2 separate regions of the Homo sapiens genome follow, and region 2 is linked to region 1. Evidence: promoter capture Hi-C in 16 types of primary human blood cells and fetal thymus (Javierre and others, 2016). All regions are on one chromosome and are shown on one strand. The core of a region is centred on a gene start or on the middle of the fragment in contact, and the rest is flanking DNA. Distances in the headings are between cores, read along the strand shown.

Region 1 (6,532 bases), core at 2,195-4,694:
ATTTTTATATATCAAGTCATAGTTTAAAGGCACTAACTAGGAAAGCTAGTACTTACAAAGAAAACCTGTTGTGGATTCTTTTATAAAGCAAATGACCTCCTATTTTCTTTCTTTCTTTTTCTTTTTCTTTTTTTTTGTTCAGATTGTGTGTGTTGTGTGTGGAAGGGGCGACTTCCCTCCTTTCTCTGGGTTAAAAGGGGTCAGAAGCCCACCATGGAGGAGAGTAATGCAGTATGGCCAGCCTGTTTAATACCCCCTTAGTTCCTGGGACAAAATTCTAACCTTTGACTTGGGGGTGGAACCCTAGAATTTGGACCAAAGTCCACAAAAGGCAGCAAGGAGGGAAAAGTAAGTAAGACTAAAGACAACACATCATAGTAAAACACCAACAAAAATTCCTGGGGACAGGAAATCAATGGATCACAATTCTAAACAAATTGGTTTAGTCCCCAGCTAATTAACTTGTCAAGCAGATCACTAAACCTACTGAATCCATGGGAGAAAGAGATGATGTAATAGGAGATTTGGAAACATTTACCCATTTACCATCCTAAAAGGCTCCAGTACGACCACACACACCTCTCCCCACCCCTTTCAGTGTTTAAGCTGGGCTTAATGGGTGCAAAGGACAATTTCTACCAGACAGTCCCCAAGAATAGACTGTTCTCATGCATTCCAAATGCTCAGTCTCCATGGAGGAGGCTACCTGGTCACAAGCATTTCCCAAGAGGGAATATATCCTCTATTCCTCCTCATTGGTAACAACTCCCCCACTCCACCCCCACGCCCCAAACAAAACAAAACAACTTCTAACCATCCTGAGAACTTCAGGGGACTTTTCTGGGGTAAAGGAAAAGAAGCGTTAAGAGGGGAACAGGAAAGTGTGAGAAACCCCTCTTGTCTCCAAATGGAAAAAAAGGCCTTAAAAAGCTGGATCAAAGGAAGAAAGGGGGATGGGGAAGAAGGGCCGCTTAATTACAAAGACACCCTTTTAAAGAAGGCGCAGGCCCTGGGAGAGGGCTCTTGGGAGAGGCACAGAAGCAGATGTACCCACTTAGAATTCTGGCACTCAATGGGACCTCAAGGTCATAGTATCCATCCCCCTGCCTTCTGATTAGGCTATTCTTAAAGCATTCTAGAGTCTGATGCAGTCTTTACAAAACCTCAGAAAGAAAAAGCAACTCTACAAATGTCCTTGTTGGGAATTAGTCTAATAAATCAAACTTCATAAACCAGAAATGAAATTTTAATTTCCAAATCCAAAACTGCATTGACTATGAATTATTAAAATTCCCTTTCTAAAATCTTTTAAATAGGTAAACAGATCCACAAATTTCATGTAAAAGTGACTCCACATACAATTGTGGTCAGAGGTTTACTTCACATCTAGACTGTGAAGGTAGAAAAAGCACTTACAATTTTACAAAGCCACGAACTTTTCCAAGGAAAGAAGTAATTTAAAATGAAGTATGATGTAGTGCCAGAAAGTGTCTGTCAATGACGCCGGATAAACCCATACAGAATAGTTGGAACCTTAGTTATCATCTGTAAATAGAGGCAACTACTCTACAACCACCTGGCTGTTAAAATGTCCCAGGCCAGTTATAAAATGTAGTTTGGTCAGGCCAGCTTTTCCCTCCCAGCTGATCTGAAACAGGATAGCCTTTAAAATTGTCGCCCTTCTCTACCTTCCTACTTTCCTTTCACTCATTAAAATCAACCAAAGTTATTTTAAAATGTATGTTAATAATGTGTTCCCAAATAAGCAATGGGTTAAGGACATCTCAGTAATAAGTCTTTGAACACCATCACTTACAGGCTTGACGCACTTGTCCAATTGAAGATAGGTGGGAGATGGATGAAAATGTATACCACATCCAAAATGGCATTTCAAACTATTCTTAGCTACTAAATGAGGGTGCTGAAAGGTCTAACTGAGAAGGCTTCACAAAGGCTGGCCTGAGAAAGAACTTTTCACAAAGCCTAGCTCAAGGAGACTTAAATATCCTTAGCCCTTCATCATTGAAGATTATGGTGACTAATTATCTTCTTCTCTGAATGGGAGAAGAGGGTTATATTCATAAAAGTTTTAAACTGCCTCCCAACGTCCACTCTTCATGGCGGGGAGGGAGGAGAACTTCATGCACTAAACATCCCAGGTTGTTGAAAAGTTCGTTCTAAAACATACACTAGAGATTGAAAATGCTGTTTCTCACCAACTTTCTCTTTCCTTGCTCATTTAATTCTACTTAGTCCCTTTATGCAAATTATTATATTATTATTAGTGGCAATCTACCAGGAACTGCTCACAGTCTATTAAAGACTGTTATTTTCCCTCCCCCTTTTCTTTCTCTTCATTTTCACAAACCCATGAAGCCCATCTTACTGTTGAAGCACCAATGTGCAGTGGCCCAGGCTTGGACCCTCAAGACACCCTCAAGATCCCCCAAAACTATTTACTAACATCTTTGGATCTTCTAAAGCAGATAGGGGCAACTCCCTCCTCACCACCACTATCACTACCACCACAAGCACTACCACCACCACCACACATCTCAAAGAGTAGCCTTGTTTTAGATTACACAGACTTTAAAACTTCAAGAATTCACGGTCCTACCCCTCCTGCTCCCGCCTCAGGGAGTGTGAGTCCCCACCCCAAGCCTAAGCACTTAGCAGAAACCTATCTAGTTATCTGAGATAAGCACTGACATGCATGCTGGGCTAAATGTAGATTTCAGCTTCCCTCGGGTCTTTAGCTCCTCAATGTGATTAATTACCTAGAGACCCACAAGAACCCCAGGAGGTAAAGAAGTAAAAGTACCATCTAGTAGTGGTACCCACTAGCATCTCCTCACCGAAGTAGGACGGGAAAGCAGCGCACACTCTAACCGATTTAACTTGCTGCACATCCAAAAAAACTCATGGCGAGCTGCAAAGAAAGTAGAACACACGGGCATTCCCACACGCGCCTAGATCGATTCACTCACGCCGAGGGCACGACCAAGTTCATGCCACCATGGATTCCTGCCCCAGTTCCCCGCGAAAAGTAACCACGCGTCTCCTACCCCTGAAGGCAAAGAAGACAAGGTGACGACTCTCTGCTCGCTCAAGTGGCTTCGGTCCCGGGCCAGCGGCCAGGGATGGGCAGGGGGGAAGCCCCAACTCCCGGCTGCTCCCCTCCTCGCTGCTCCGTCCGGGCTCTCCTTGGTGGCAGCGGACAGGCAGGATACCGGGCCAGAGGGTGGAGCAGCGGATAGCCGGAGGCGAGACTGACTGGAGGTGGTGGTAGTTGAGGGGGAGGCGGAGAGAACTAAGAGAAGAGGAGGCGAAAGAGAGCGGAGATGGAGGAGTAATTCAGGGGGTCTACCAGTTTAGGCAGCCAGAAAGCTCCTCGGAAGGAAGGGGCGTGACTGCCAAGGCAGCTCCTGGGCAAAGGATGGGAGGTAGGGGAGGGGGACGAACGGGTGGCTTTTCTTCTTGCGGTGAGCGGCTAGGACCGCCCCGGAGCAGGGCGGCGGGAGGGGTGGACGAGGGAGGAAGGCGGAGTAGAGGGCGGGGAAAGAAGGGCGGGAGCCTGCCTGGACCCTGGAAGTGAGGAGTGAGGGGAGCGCGGAAGAGAGGCGGGGCCGGGGGGCGTGGAAGTTTCAAACAATTGAACCGCGGGGTCCGGGAGCTCGGGCGAAAGCAAGGGACCCTCGCTCTCGCCTTCCCACTAGAGGGGCACGACTCGGTTGCCGTAGCCGTGAGAGTCTGCGCGGGGACTGGCTGGGAAGAAGGAAAGGGTTTTGCAAAAGACTACAATAATAATCTGCGGCAACAGCGCGGCATAGACGCGTGGGAGAGCCAGTGCAGCTCCCCGCCCCACTGCGGGAGGAAGAAAAACAAATAATAGAAATGCTGAAAAGCAGCTTCCACCAAAGCCTGCTTAAAATAATGCAGGAAGGAGAAGCGCTCCTTCGTTTTCCTTCCCCTCTTGCTTCCTATTACCAGCAGGCCCCCACCCAGGTCACAGCTCTGCGAGACACCCTCCTTTCTTCCTCCGCTCCCCCGCCCCGGGCGCTTGCCCCCCTCCCGTTGGCGGGCCGCAGAAGCTGAGGGGCGAGGGAGGAGGGGTCGCGGGCGGCGCTCCGCGGAGGCTCCGCCCCTGGGCGGGCTGGGAGCGCCGGCCTGGGCGGAGCGCGTCCCTGAAGCGTAAGTCCCGCCCACCATTCTTTTGCAGCTACCGGTTGGCCCAGCCTGGCCTAGTATACGCTTGCGATTGGGCCCTGGAGTCGCCAGTCTGATCCCTTTGTCCCACCCGCCCTCAAAATTAATAAAACTAAACAAGAGGCTATTGTGTAGTTCTATGTTCTACCCCAGCTACTGCTGGCAAGAGAAAGATGAGACGCTTTATTTCTCAGTCTCATAAAAGAGTGCAACAGTGTGTCGGCCGACTCTGGTACGCCTTTATGTTTATGGCACTGTCCAGCTTTCTGCGAATAGGTAACTTTTCTTCCCCCTTAGTTTATTAAATCAGGAGGGGGGAAAGTACATGAAGTGTCATTGTGGTGTTCTGCTGACTGTGAAAAAAGCTGACATTGGTTAAAAACGAGAGGGTTGAGAACAGCATCCTGGGACACGGAAAATCTACCATTTTACATCTAGAAAAACGAAGGCACAAAGAAACAGTGTCAGGGTAGCAAAATAACATGGAATTTGGAACCAAAGGAAGAATTCATTTGGGGCCCTGGCACTTACTAGCTAATTGTATGACTTCTGTTAAGTGGCTTAACTTCTCAGCCTTAATTTTTCTACCTGTAAGTAAATGCTGTAAGACATGCCCTATTAACTTAAAGGCACTGGTATGAAAATAAAATGTGTGTGAAAACTATAAAGCACTCCACACATGTATGTGTTCCTACTTGTGTGTGAAACATAATGGAGAGTCTTAGATGTGTTAGAGGATCAATATTTTGCTCATCTGTTTTAAGCATTTACATCCAAGGTCGTGTAGGTTTTGTGGCTTTATTTTAAAAAGTCAACTCTTTTCCTACAATTTTGGGGGTGGATATGAAGTTGACTCCCTGCAGTTAGAATAATAAATTACCCCTTTTCTAAGCAGGGTGGGTGAGATTTCTTTTTTAAAGTTCTACAATTTCATGACAACTTAAAGCTATTGTGGTTCTGGTACTGAAAGAGGAAATCATGCTGTGTATCTCCGAAGTGAACTTAAGAAAACAAATATGAAGGAACATTTACCATGGAAACCACCATTCTCTACAGATCCATATTTCCTAGAAAACATTTCAAGTAGGAAGCAAGCCTAAATGTAAACGCCTTGACAGCGCAAGGCCATTATAATGGCTCATGCCAATGAAAGAGTGACATCCAATTCAAGCCTGCCTAATGGGAGCCATCTGGGGGGCCATGGATCAAGGCATGCAAGAGGAAGTGTGCTTAAAGGAAACACTATCACACAGTAAACAGGGGCTCAGAATCCAACTCTGCAGGAAAAGTAGTGGACTATTGCATGTCATGGAGTGTGCAGCATGCTCTGCTAGGAGCTGTGGAAAGATTCAGAAGCAGGAGTGTGCACAAAATGATTCTCGTTATGATTCTGTTTATGTATGAAGTGAGGTTATTTGGGTGATTTTTCATGGAGAAAGTGAGTTTTTGAATGTTCAAAATATGGAGACACCTGGTTTGTGAAGCAAGGAAAGGTTATTTCAGCCTTGTTATTTGGAGTGGACAGGAGAGCTAGATGTGGGGGGGCGGGTATATGCTGCAGGACTACTACCAATCACAGAGGCAAAAGGATATTTGTTAAAATCAATGCTGTCCAAGTGAAAAAAGTTAAACATGCACATGGAAGAATTCAGATAAAACGGTACTGGGCTGGGCACGGTGGCTCACACCTGTAATCCCAGCACTTTGGGAGGCTGAGGCGGGTGGATCACTTGAGATCAGGTGTTCAAGACCAGCCTGATCAATATGGTGAAACCCCTTCTCTACTAAAAATACAAAAATTAGCTGCACGTGGTGGCATGCGCCTGTAGTAGCAGGTACTCGGGAGGCTGAGACAGGATAATTACTTGAACCTGGGAGGCGGAGGTTGCAGTGAGCTGAGATCAGCCACTGAGCTCCAGCTACTCGGGAGGCTGAGACAGGATAATTACTTGAACCTGGGAGGCGGAGGTTGCAGTGAGCTGAGATCGGCCACTGCGCTCCAGCCTGGGTGACAGAGCGAGACTCCGTCAAAAAAAAACCAAAAAACACCAAACAAAAAGGTACTGAAAGACTACAGTGAAAAGTTCTTCTCCACCACTCTGCTCCCATAGTCCCATTCTCTTTATGACTGTATGTCATCTTCCAAATAGATTATTTGCATATTCAAGCATGAGTGCATATTCCCTTTTTGTTCCTTACAAGTGGGATCATTAATCAAGGCACACCTTGCATTTGTTTACTCAACAATGTATTTGAAATATTCTTCCATCTCAGGATAACTATGTTTACCTTATTTATTTTATTATAACTCAATATTCTATTGCAT
Region 2 (6,532 bases), core at 2,916-5,415, 200 kb before region 1:
CTGGGCAGTCTAAAGTTCCTGAACTCCTGTGGTCCCACCCAAAATCATGGTGAAAGCCCAATTACAGCAGCTATGAAAATAGTGCCTCTGAAGGCTCAGAAAGAGCAAATTTGAAAGAGAAGCCTCCTTTGAGAAAGGAGCTCAACTATCTCCAAAGTAGTTTAAACGTGAACAACAATGGTGGACTCTCAAGACAGTAAACTGAAGAATACCATATAGAGACAAGCAGCCTGTAGAGCTGTATCCCCTCCTTGTTGCTCCTCCCCCTGGACACACACACACAAACACACACACTCCCTGGTTCACATACACAAAGTAGGAAGGTTTGAAAAATGTTTTGGAATTCACAGAGTGAAAACTCCAGAGACTGGAAAACCTTCAACTTCTGCCATCAGTGGGAAGAAGACTGCAGACTTTATTGCACCTACTTCACAAACCATAATATGAGGCTCCGGTGATAGCCCTGGGAACTCTCTCAGAAGCAGAGAGGTAGAGGCAGAAATCCAGACCAAGTGTCTTTACTCCCAATTCAGTGCTCTGCCCTCTGCAGTTTTGTTTTCATCACACCCAAAAGCATTTTTCTCTTACAGGGCCCTTGACCTGTAAGCCCTAAGGAGGGGGGGCTCCTAAGTCAAGTTGTAGTAGACTCACCTGAGCTTCTCTTCTAACCCCCTTCAACAAAAATCTCCTGTAGTCACCTGGCAGAGCAGACAGGAGCCAGCTCTGAGGTGGGCCCATTGCCAAGCAACTTCATCCTCCCCAGCTTATTCCAAATCTAGTCTAGACAAGGCATCAGAACTCTCATTCTGTTTCTTCAGCTGCTTGTCAGGTCATCCCCTCATTTGAGTAGCAAGGATATTTCTATTAGGTACATGCCCCATGGGATCAGGGAAAGACTCATTTCTCTGAATGAAGAGAATAAATGCATAGCATGCCATTAGCCCAAAGCCCTAGGCAGGAAGAAAACTGACAGAGTGGTCAGCTCCAGAGTGAAGAGCTGGCTAGAAAGGCCCCAATAAACCTCACTGAAGTCAGAACCAGGTATCACTGAGCTAGGAGCCAACACTAAAGTGCTCCTATTGCCACCCCAAGTGCCTTGTGAATTCCCTCTCACAGAAATTTCTGTTAGACCTCTGAAGGCATCTAAGCCCCAGACTGCTGTCATAAAGGAAACTAAGGAGAAAGAGGGGAAATGTATCTTCCATCCACATCCCTCCCCACAACTCTACCTGTTATCTACCGGAGGAAAAAAAGAGATTATATTCATTGGCACTGTAAAAGAAAAAGAAAAAGCAGACCTTTTAAGAACTACCTTACCATTTGGAAAGCCACTGTCAGCACTCAGTTACTTCACAGAAAACTTGCATGCTGATCTGATGGCCCACTGAGGAAATCGTCTATGGAAGGGTGCAAAAGTAGGGAGCAGGTGGCAATGAGTTGCCATATTTTGCCTCTTGTTGCCTTTTAGTGAAGTCCTATGGACCATCATCCATTCCCAAATCCCATTATTTAAACTACTATTGATCCTTATTTTCATCTGACAAACATGTATTGAGTACCGACTATATGCTAGGCATTTTTAATACACAATCTCATTTAATTCTCATAACAGCCATGATTATTTCCATTTACTGCTCAGGGAACTGAGTTTCAGAAAGGTAAATGACTTGGCCCACTTATAAGTGTCAGAATTGCAATTTGACTGCCAGACCTAACTCAAAGTTCATGATTATCCATTTCAACCATGCTAGGAGAATGAAACCAAGAACACAAATTACTACAGTCCAAGTCTTGCGAGAATATACAATGCCTTCGGCCAATTACTTCACCTTTCTGGACCTCAGTTTCCTTTACTTTCAGTGGAAGGATTTACTGAAGAGAATCCTAAAAGCCCCTTCCAGATCATATTTTCTATTGTAGTATGAATATGATAAGTGCTTTAAGAGATATATTTGTAAAATACTATAGGAATATCCAGGGAAGGAGGAATTATTTGCAGCTGGGAAAATTTGAGCTCAGGTAAGCCTTTGTAGATGCTACATTTCATCTTGGCTTTAGTAGTAGGAAGTGGGCATTCTAGGCAGAGGGAGTGGTTGGCGTGAGCAAAGTTATGTGAGTGAGAAAGCACATGACATGTTTCAGAGAAAGCATAACATTCAGAGCTGTTTCCAAAAAGGAGCTATAGTTGACAAAATAATAAACTGAATCTACACCAGGAGAGGCCATGAAATCTGTCATCTTTCCTACAAGCAGTGTGAAACAATGGAAAGTTTCTGAGCAGGGAACGATACGCTAGAGCAAGGTTTCTCGACCTTGGCGCTATTGACATTTTGGGTTGGACATTTACTTGGTGTGGGGGCAGGGGCAGGGGGCGGTTTTCCTGTACACTGTAACACCCTGGCTTCTACCCACTATATGTCTATAGCAACTTATTCTTCCTCCCCACCAAGTTGTGAAAACCAAAAATGTCACCAGACATTGCCAGATGTCCCCCGGTATGAGGGGAGGTTGCTTTCTATTGAGAACCACTAAGTTAGAGGTATTGCCTGGAAATATTAACCTGAAAGGTCTGTGTCAAATAGATTGGAGGCAAATGGAGGATATAGACAGAGAGAGTTACCAGAGGTCACGGACACTGCTACACATCCAACAATACATAAAAGAGTTCTCCACAACAAAAAATGATCTGGCCAAAAAGTGTCGATATTGTCTACGTTGAGCAATCCTCATGTAGACAAACACCAGATATTTATACTTTAAATTCTATTCAAAATAAATCTTGATGACTAAAAGATTAGCCCAACAGAATGGAATTTCCTCCCTTAAGAACGGCCATGCATGGTTCCTTCTTGACCTGGGAAGCAGACTGGGACTGAGGCATGGTCAGTCTTGAGCATTCTAGTATGTTACCCCATGGAAGGCAAGGGAAGCTCAAGGGGAGAGATCTCACAAGGTATTGAGGAGGAAGCACTGATTCCCTGGGAGTAAGGAGACAGGATAAATATTTGAATAAATGTTTTAACTCCACCAGGTCTCAGCTCTTTAACCCTTAAAATGTGGAAAAATAATTAAGTACCTGGCTAAAGACGTCACATTAAGACCAGATGCGTCCTTAAAGTCCCTTGAGAAACACCAAACTAACTGCTTCCTTGCCTTCAGATTAAATGCACTGACTCTACTTCCACGCTAGAATTGTTTAAAAGTCTGTGTCCTTAGAAGATACTGCAGGGAGATGACATCACACCTAGAAATTTTCTCTATATCCATGCATGGGTGTCTGTGAAGAGAAGGATCGGTGGCAGGATAGGGGGAGAAAAGAGGTTCTAACTGCAAATGAGCTTTATGCAAAGCTTCTGGATGAGCCCTGAGATAAGCCTATTCCTTTTTGTGCTCTTCTGTATCATTTCTAACACTCTATCTGTGAGTCACTGAATTCCAGTGTTGAATTTGCTGTGACAGAATCTCTCATACAAGTTATTAAATCATCACTCAGCAGTGGGCCTGACATTTAAATCAAGACACGTTGCTTTTATTCCAAGTTGCACATCAAATTGGATTGGAATTTGACTCTGTTTCCTTTGATTCAGCACGATGTTATGTTTTACAGCTCACTGTTTAGAGATAAATTGTCACTGGCGGCCACTTAAACTGACCACCCTCCCTAGAGCCGCAGTCCTATGCCCTTCAGGGTTGTGGTGTCTGGCTAGCTGTCAATGGGTCATGATGAGCTATGGGGAGTTAGCCCCAAACCAATGCTTGTGGTGGGATCTAGCATTGCTGTGGGCATCAAAATTATGGACCGGAGTGAGTCAGAATCTGATAGAGTGGCTCCCCCATTCAGGGAGCATGTGCAGAATGCCAGCTTAGAAGCCAAGAATGCTGGAGAGTGAATCCAAAAAAGGAGTTCTCTTTGGAGGAAGAAGGAAACAATGTTGAAAAGAAAGGGCATAAAAAGAGAATGAGGTAAGTCTGTCTTTTGAGTGAGTTGAGTCTTCTCTTTCAGAGAATCATCTGATGAAATTCCAGGCTCCTGAAAGGTTGGAGGAAGAGTCAGGGAAGCAGGGATATAGCAAGCCCATAATGACAACTAACACCTCCAAAACTGAATAGGGCTAGATGAAATGTAATGGAACCTTCAGATATATGAAGATTTAATTTCGCACAAGTGTTGCCAACAGTCATGTTCTGAGAGCTGCTACTGTAGAAGGAAAAAACAAGCATGCTAGGACCCCGGATTATGGTAAGAAGTGTTGGATATTGGTGTGGCAGGGGAGAGGCTCATGAAGATGGGGTAAGAATTGTGAAGTGGTTTGGAGTTTCAGGGTCAGGCAAGAAGGGAAAAATCCATTTGGACAATGTGAATAGTTCAAGGGTGTAGATTGTATTCCACCAGAAAGATAAGATCCAAATTCTAGGAATTATTGGAATTAGAAGACTGGAGGGTGTTTCAGGTAAGGGGCAAAGAGAACAATATTAGCATTTGTTTTTTCGTCTAATATACTCCAATAATCAGGAAGTTTAAGAGACACTGCCCTGGCCTTAGATAGGCAAAAGAAGGGAAGGAATGACACCAAGGATAGAGAAGAACCTAAAATGGGAACCTGCATATCATCCTCAACTTCACCACCCAGTGTAGAGGAGCAGGACAGATATACAGAGAAATCTGCCTGGGAGTGACCTGGGGGCCTTGATGGCTTTCACAGGCTTCCACATATCAAGCCAGGTAGCCTATAGTGGCCCTGAGGACAAAAACCTCAGCTACAGAGAAGCACCTAGGAATCCTTTGGAATTTGATAGAGTAGGGTGTGAGGGGAAGGAATAGAGAGAAATCAAAGAAGAGAAAGGGACTAAAGGAGAATCAATGGGGTGGGTGGAAGATTAGAACAATAGAGATACTAAAGGAGAGTTGATGGGGTGGGTGGAAGATTAGAACACTAGACATAGAGATCATGGCACATGGAGACTGATGGCTGGGGAGGGTTAAGCTTTTACAGACCTCTTCCTATTGAGGGTATTATTTTTTTCTGAAAATAATAAAACAAGTTCAGGAAATAATAAACAAGTTCAGGAAATAATAAACACAGTTCAGGAAAGCCAGCTGTTCTTCTCATCATTGTGGCACCATCTAAAGTCATGAAACCAGGTAACAACCCATCTCCCAAACTACCGTTTGGTACACATGGTAGGGTAAGGGAGGGGTGGTTGCTATTTGCTGACTCAATGCATTTTTGCCATGAAGACCTGAATTTTATGTTAGCAAGAAAAGTAGGGGTTTGGAAGGAGCTGGTGGTCCCATCTATTCAGAGACATACTGCTGACTTTAGGGTCTTTATAGGTAGCAACATAAAAACATTTTTAATGCAGCCAAGCTAAATGAACAGAGAACTTTCTCTGCTAGGTTCAGCAAACACAGATGAATAATCCACAAAGATAAAGCAAAGCCAACGAATTCAAGAGCAATTGCCAAACACCCTACCACCCCCACCCCGGCCCCCAGTAAAAAGACAGCCAAAGCTATGAGAACATCTCTCTTCTCACTCTCCAAGCTGGGCGTGAGTGTCAACAGCAGCCCAGATTGGAGGCCCAGAACCTACTGAAGATTCCAGAAGCCTGCCAGGCTCCTTTGCCAGAGAAGAAGAATAAAAAACAACCCACTGAAAACTTCAGTTGTTCAGGTAAATATGTTATTGTGAGTAGCCACTGACTTTTTGGTCCAGTCAGGTCTGCTGGAGGGGTAGGACATTCTGGGTTTTCAACTTCATCACGGTTCAACCCAATGTTCCAAAGGGTAAGGGAAGACCAGGACACTTGCTAGAAAGTCCATGGGAGTACTCAAAGAAGAGCCAAGTCCTCATGACGACAGAAATGCCCTGATTTGGCTGATTTTTCTTTTCTCTCTCACACACTTCTGCCGAACAAATTGAGTCCTTCGATTAAAATCTTCCTCGCCACTATTGAGCATTAGCTTCCGACCTTTCCTCATGTTTTGCCAACCTGTATTGCTTATTTATATCACTTTTCATATAGCTATCCTGAGTTTTAGCTACTCTGCTCATCTTCCATGTCTCAGGCCAAGTTAAATTGTGCTTCTAGGTCTTTCTCCAGATTTACCTTTAGCTGCCTCTGAAAAACACTTCTGGGTCACCCCGTGTTGCCTTTTATACAGCCTGTCAGCTACACCTGGAGCAGATTCTCAGAAGAGCTTTGGGCGCTCTCCTCAAGGAGACGGGTTAAAACCCATCTGACCAAATATTGGATGTATTCGATTCAGCGCTAGCTCTTGAGGACACTTAGCCTCTAGGAAATTGGTTCCTCTCCCCTAACATCTGCTCAGTAGTCCTCTGCTTGCTTCCACTTGAACTTTCTCAGCTAAATAAGTCAGTTACTGGAATAGTAATAGCTAATATTGGTTAAATGTTTCTATATGCCAGTCACTATAGTAAGCTCTGTAAACATATTGTTTTCTCATAGGTAAGATCAACAAACTAGATGAGTGAAAGGGAGCCAGAAGCAGAAACGGGACAAGGAAATA

The links. Contacts are between HindIII fragments. The CHiCAGO score rates a contact against its expected background, and 5 or more counts as called.
Region 2: a fragment that was not itself captured here is called in contact with the fragment with the promoter of AMOT in region 1 in 1 of 17 cell types (activated CD4 T cells); the score reaches 6.1 in activated CD4 T cells.

The regions. Positions count from the first base shown.
Region 1 is chrX:112,837,387-112,843,918 of GRCh38, forward strand. AMOT (angiomotin) reads right to left here and starts at 3,445. Exons shown (of 14, transcript NM_001113490.2): 1 at 3,066-3,445. LOC107985651 (a long non-coding RNA gene) reads left to right here and starts at 4,340. Exons shown (of 3, transcript XR_001755993.2): 1 at 4,340-4,482. RefSeq lists a silencer at 3,951-4,290. The HindIII fragment of the contact is 13,608 bases long and covers 1-6,532 here.
Region 2 is chrX:112,633,688-112,640,219 of GRCh38, forward strand. The region is part of intron 3 of LHFPL1 (LHFPL tetraspan subfamily member 1); the gene reads right to left. Among named protein-coding and RNA genes, the nearest start is that of LHFPL1, 43 kb to the right of the region's middle. The HindIII fragment of the contact is 1,635 bases long and covers 3,349-4,983 here.